2 separate regions of the Homo sapiens genome follow, and region 2 is linked to region 1. Evidence: promoter capture Hi-C in human tissues and cell types (Jung and others, 2019). All regions are on one chromosome and are shown on one strand. Each heading gives the region's core, a stretch centred on a gene start or on the middle of the fragment in contact. The rest is flanking DNA. Distances are from core to core; before and after follow the strand shown. Region 1 holds the start of IGLON5 (IgLON family member 5). Region 2 overlaps ZNF175 (zinc finger protein 175).

Evidence for each region. Contacts are between HindIII fragments. The study calls those that stand out against the background at their distance.
Region 2: a contact is called between a fragment that was not itself captured here and the fragment with the promoter of IGLON5 in region 1, in 2 of the 25 tissues and cell types used here (adrenal gland and dorsolateral prefrontal cortex).

Annotation. Positions count from the first base shown.
Region 1 is chr19:51,310,200-51,312,899 of GRCh38, forward strand. It overlaps IGLON5 (IgLON family member 5), which reads left to right and starts at 1,445. Exons shown (of 8, transcript NM_001101372.3): 1 at 1,445-1,727. The coding sequence starts at 1,649. The HindIII fragment of the contact is 18,731 bases long and covers 1-2,700 here.
Region 2 is chr19:51,582,394-51,585,093 of GRCh38, forward strand. All of the region lies in intron 4 of ZNF175 (zinc finger protein 175), which reads left to right. Among named protein-coding and RNA genes, the nearest start is that of LINC01530, 11 kb to the right of the region's middle. The HindIII fragment of the contact is 5,405 bases long and covers 1-2,700 here.

The sequences.
Region 1 (2,700 bases), core at 195-2,694:
TTTTGCACCTAAACCCTGGATTATGGTTTCCTCCCCACCTGCTCCCCCAAGATAAGTCCCCCAATCCCTTCCCATTGCCTTATTATACTGGGGATGAGGGTTGGGGTGGAGGAAAAAAGCAAATTTCACTCCAAAAGTCAGTGTTTTCGTTATCCATGAAAATAGATGGAAAAGCTGAACTGTGGCCCACAGGAAGAGGGGCCTGGGGGCCTGGCCTCCTGGGTCTGAGGGAGGAGGGGGCTGGGGGCCTGGACTCCTGGGTCTGAGGGAGGAGGGGCTGGGGGCCTGGACTCCTGGGTCTGAGGGAGGAGGGGCTGGGGGCCTGGACTCCAGGGTCTGAGGGAGGAGGGGCTGGGGGCCTGGACTCCAGGGTCTGAGGGAGGAGGGACTGGGGACCTGGACTCCTGGGTCTGAGGGAGGAGGGGCTGGGGGCCTGGACTCCTAGGTCTGAGGGAGGAGGAACTGGGGACCTGGACTCCTGGGCCTGAGGGAGGAGGGGCTGGGGACCTGGACTCCTGGCTCTGAGGGAGGAGGGGCTGGGGGCCTGGACTCCAGGGTCTGAGGGAGGAGGAGCTGGGGGCCTGGACTCCTGGGTCTGAGGGAGGAGGGGCTGGGGGCCTGGACTCCTGGGTCTGAGGGACGAGGGGCTGGGGGCCTGGGCTCCAGGGTCTGAGGGAGGAGGGGCTGGGGGCCTGGACTCCTGGGTCTGAGGGAGGAGGGGCTGGGGGCCTGGACTCCTGGGTCTGAGGGAGGAGGGGCTGGGGGCCTGGGCTCCAGGGTCTGAGGGAGGAGGGGCTGGGGGCCTGGACTCCTGGGTCTGAGGGAGGAGGGGCTGGGGGCCTGGACTCCTGGGTCTGAGGGAGGAGGGGCTGGGGGCCTGGGCTCCAGGGTCTGAGGGAGGAGGGGCTGGGGGCCTGGACTCCTGGGTCTGAGGGAGGAGGGGCTGGGGGCCTGGGCTCCAGGGTCTGAGAGAGGAGGGGCTGGGCCTGGACTCCTGGGTCTGAGGGAGGAGGGGCTGGGGGCCTGGACTCCTGGGCTGAGGGAGGAGGGGCTGGGGGCCTGGACTCCTGGGTCTGAGGGAGGAGGGGCTGGGGGCCTGGACTCCTGGGTCTGAGGGAGGAGGGGCTGGGGGCCTGGACTCCAGGGTCTGAGGGAGGAGGGGCTGGGGACCTGGGCTCCTGGGTCTGAGAGAGGAGGGACTGGGGCTAGTCTCCTAGGTCCATGGGAGGATGAGATTGGGACTTGAAGGAGGAGGGAGCTGGGTTTTAGGAAGTATCCCAGACTCCGTGTTCTGCGGATGTGGTGGAAAGACGTGGGGACGCCTGGGGCGGGAGGGGTAGGGGCCGGGCCGCAGTAACAAAGGCCTCTCCCTCCAACAAGCAACCCCCCCTTGACCCCGCCTCCCCGGCCCCCCACCTCTCCTGATTGGCCGGTCTCCCTGCCCGTCAGCGCCGCCCCCCTCCCCGGGTCTGCAGCAGCTCCAGCCGCCTCGTCGCGCCCCCCCAGCCCCCTCCCCCCGCCCCCGCCGCCCCCCGGGCCGGTGCAGCGCAGGCGGGGTCCCCCTCCCCCTCCCCCCTCTCCCCCCAGGCCTCGCGCGCCCCGGACCGGCCCCCCCTTTCCCCTCCCCCTCCGCGCCGCCTCTGCCGCGATGCCCCCCCCTGCGCCCGGGGCCCGGCTCCGGCTTCTCGCCGCCGCCGCCCTGGCCGGCTTGGCCGTCATCAGCCGAGGTACCGCAGCGCCGGGGGCGGGGGGCTCGGCCGGGACGCCAGGGTCTTGGGTGGGTAATCGGGGGATCAGGGGTGGGGGTCGAGGGCTGCATCCCTGGGCCGGCGCGGGGAGGCCCCGGGACGCCGGGGTCTGGGCCCGGGGGTGGGGTCTGCATTCCCTGGCTGGGCAGGGGGACCTCGGACGTGGGGGTCCGCGCCCCGGGGCAGGGGTCGGCGTCCTCGGGCCGGAGCCGGGTCTAGGGGCGGAGGTCTGCTTCCCCGAGCAGGCAAGAGGGTCGCAGACACCTAGCCCTGCCTGGGGGCAGGAGTCTGCGGCTCCTGTTGAGGAGGGGGCAGACACTGGACTCGGGGTCCCCGGGTCGGATCTCCGAACTGAGTTGGGGTGGGGGGCAGGGGATAATGCCCTGTTAGGGGTCTTCATCTGTACGTGGAGAGGGTCCCTGAAGAGGTCCTTGCCGGGGGCTGGGGTAGTCATCTCGGGACAGAGGTCAGGGGATGGATGCCTTCCCAGGGTCAGTAAGAGGAGGGGACAAGGGTGTCCACAGACCTAGTCCCAGGGTCAGGAAAAGAGGGGAAGGGTCTGAAATCCCCCAGCAGGGTCATCTAGGTTGAGAGAAAGTGTTGGTACTTGGGGAGGTTGCAGTTATGTGGGGGAGAAGGGAGCTGGAGATACAGGAAGTTGGGGTGCTGGGCTGGGGTCTTGGATTCCCAAGCTCTGATTGAATGTCTAGGTTCGTGGGGCTGGACAGTGGAAGAGCGATGGGCATGGGAGGATGAAGGAAAGACGGAAGGGAAGGGTTAAAGCAGGTTGAAGGGTTAACCCCGGCCCGGCCCGGCCCTCCCAGTTGGGGAGAGGGCCAGGGGCAGGTTTCTGCACTGAGGTTAGATAGCTGGACCTTGAGTCTCCCCAGTAGGGCCTGGCAGGCAGGGGGTGGTCAAGGAGATTCCTAGATTTCCCCCTAAGAAAAGGGAG
Region 2 (2,700 bases), core at 7-2,506, 270 kb after region 1:
TTCAAGTGATTCTCCTGCCTCAGCCTCCCGAGTAGCTGGGACTACAGGCACCCGCCACCACACTCGGCTAATTTTTTGTATTTTTAGTAGAGACAGGGTTTCACCCTGTTAGCCAGGATGGTCTCGATCTCCTGACCTTGTGATCTGCCCACCTCGGCCTCCCAAAGTGCTGGAATTATAGGCGTGAGCCACCGCACCCAGCCTGTTTCATTGCTTAAGTGTTATTTTTCTAATAACTGAATGGTGAGAGCCTCTCATCTTATCTGTTATCTGATTGGCTTTTTCATTTGTTTGTTGCATTTTCTTACCGCTTATCTCTTTACGTCCATGGAGTTTTCTGCCTTTTTTTTCCAGTTTTTTTGCCCCTAATTTTATTTATTTTCTTTTCTTTGCTGGATCTGCTGTCTTCTTTTCCTCCCAGTTGTGGCACCTCTAGCTTGGGGCCCTGTTCTTCCATATGGGCATCTTTTCTTTTTTTTGAGGCAGAGTTTCACTCTTGTTGCCCAGGCTGGAGTGCAATGGCACGATCTTGGCTCACCGCAACCTCCGCCTCCCAGGTTTGAGTGATTCTCCTGCCTCAGCCTCCCAAGTAGCTGTGATTACAGGCATGCACCACCATGCCCGGCTAATTTTGTATTTCTAGTAGAGACGGGGTTTCTCCTTGTTGGTCAGGCTGGTCTCGAACTCCCGACCTCAGGTGTTCCGCCTGGCTTGGCCTCCCAAAGTGCTGAGATTACAGGCGTGAGCCACCGTGCCCGGCTATGGGCATCTTTTCCCACAGGAATTGACTTAAAGGACCCATCCATTCTGAACTCTTAGTCCTCATATTTTTATTCTAATGATTTATATATCAGTACCTCTAGTCCCTGTGCTTAAACTGTGTTCTGCTACCTTACTTAGCTCCACGGAGGACAGTTCCCATGAGATGACTCACTTCCTTAATTTTGGGAGATCAGAAATTGGAATCATCATCATCCAAATAAGGAATTCTCACCTGATAAATTTTGTGAGATTTTTCTGTTTCTGGGCTCAGAAACACAGTCCTCTAATTTAATTTATTACTTTGGAATTCTTACCAGTTTTTCTTGTTTTAATTAAGAAAAAAGTGACCCTTTTTCTTAATCCCAGTGGTATTACAACAAACTAGATCCCCATTTTCTCATATTTAGACAATTTTGTTCCCAGTGAGATATGTTGATTTCAGGTTTTTGAGTTTAGTCAAGATACTGACAGATTTTATGACCCCAAACATGGCTATTTTGTTTCTTTTTTCCTCAGTAGATATGATAAAAACAGGCAGTTCTATTTCCTACTGTGTAGGATTAACAAATTCTTTTCAGTGATATTGTCCTCATGGCCACATATTTCCAATTTAAAAATATACCTGAATAGTTTTCATCACTCATGCTCTGCTCCATTGTTTTTGTATGTTGTTTAATGTCTACTCCATAGAATGATTCACTTTGCATACACTCTGCTGATTACTTTGTACTTTCTTAATCTTCATTATATCAATGTTTAGCATGAGGAAACCATTGTATTTAAGATATAGGATTAGGATTTTTGTATTTAGGATACAGAAATTACTGATTTTCTGAAAATGGGCAGAAAAGAATATTTCACAGTATTTTAAAAGGATGCTTTAAATATTTGCTGAGATAAATTCAAAAGAACGGAGATTGTATTTGGATGGAGAGGACAATGGCATTAAATGTTAAAAGTATTAGCCTTTGTGCATCAATCATGTCTATTTCATGGAAGGCTACTCAAAAAGTAAGTGTATCAACATGGGAAGCATGGATAGCAAATGCTGGTGAAGTTCAGAAAAATGATGTCAGCCTAGAGGTGGAGTGACATTGGGAATTAATTTTAAGGGCATAGTACCTATAACTGGTTCAAGAAGCCATTTTGAATTGAAACAAAGAAGCAGATGAAGCAAGCTTAATGGGAATAGAGGACATGAGAGTGTGCTTGGATTTGAGAATAAATTGGACTTCTTTTTTGCAATCGACATTGTTAGGCTGTGTTGGAGAGTTGTGGAAAAGCTTTTCAGTACAGTTCTGATAGTTTACATTGAACATTTTGGGCAGTAATTTAAGTGTTACCAGGTTCAGCAAGATTTTTATGACCTGAATAAAGTGAGAAGTTAAAAATGTTTCAGATCGCTGCCTGGGGACACAGTGGAAGATTGCCAGAATAAATGACCACCTGTATATGGGTAAAATTGCTATTTAAGAGTGAAAAATGAAATAGAAAACAACCTATTTTAATAAGTGGGAAAAGGATGTGAATAGACATGTCTTCAAAGATGATATACAAGTGGCCAATAATAGGAAAAAATGCTCAACTTCACTAATTATGTGGGAAATGCAAATCAAAACCACTGGGTGATATCCCTTTACATCCATTAGAATGGCTACAATTAAAAAAACAGAATAACAAGTGTTGGCAAGGATATAGAGAAACTGGAATCCTTGTGTATTACTAGTGGGAATGTAAAATGGTGTAGTCCTATGGAAAACAGGATGATGATTTCTCAAAAATTAAACATAAAATTACCATATGATCCAGCAACTCCACTTCTGGGTAGATACCCACAAGAATTGAAAGCAAGGACCCAAACAGCTGTTTGTACACTCTTGTTCATAGCAGCACTATTCACAATATCCAAAAAGTGGAATTGTCCATTGACCAATGAAT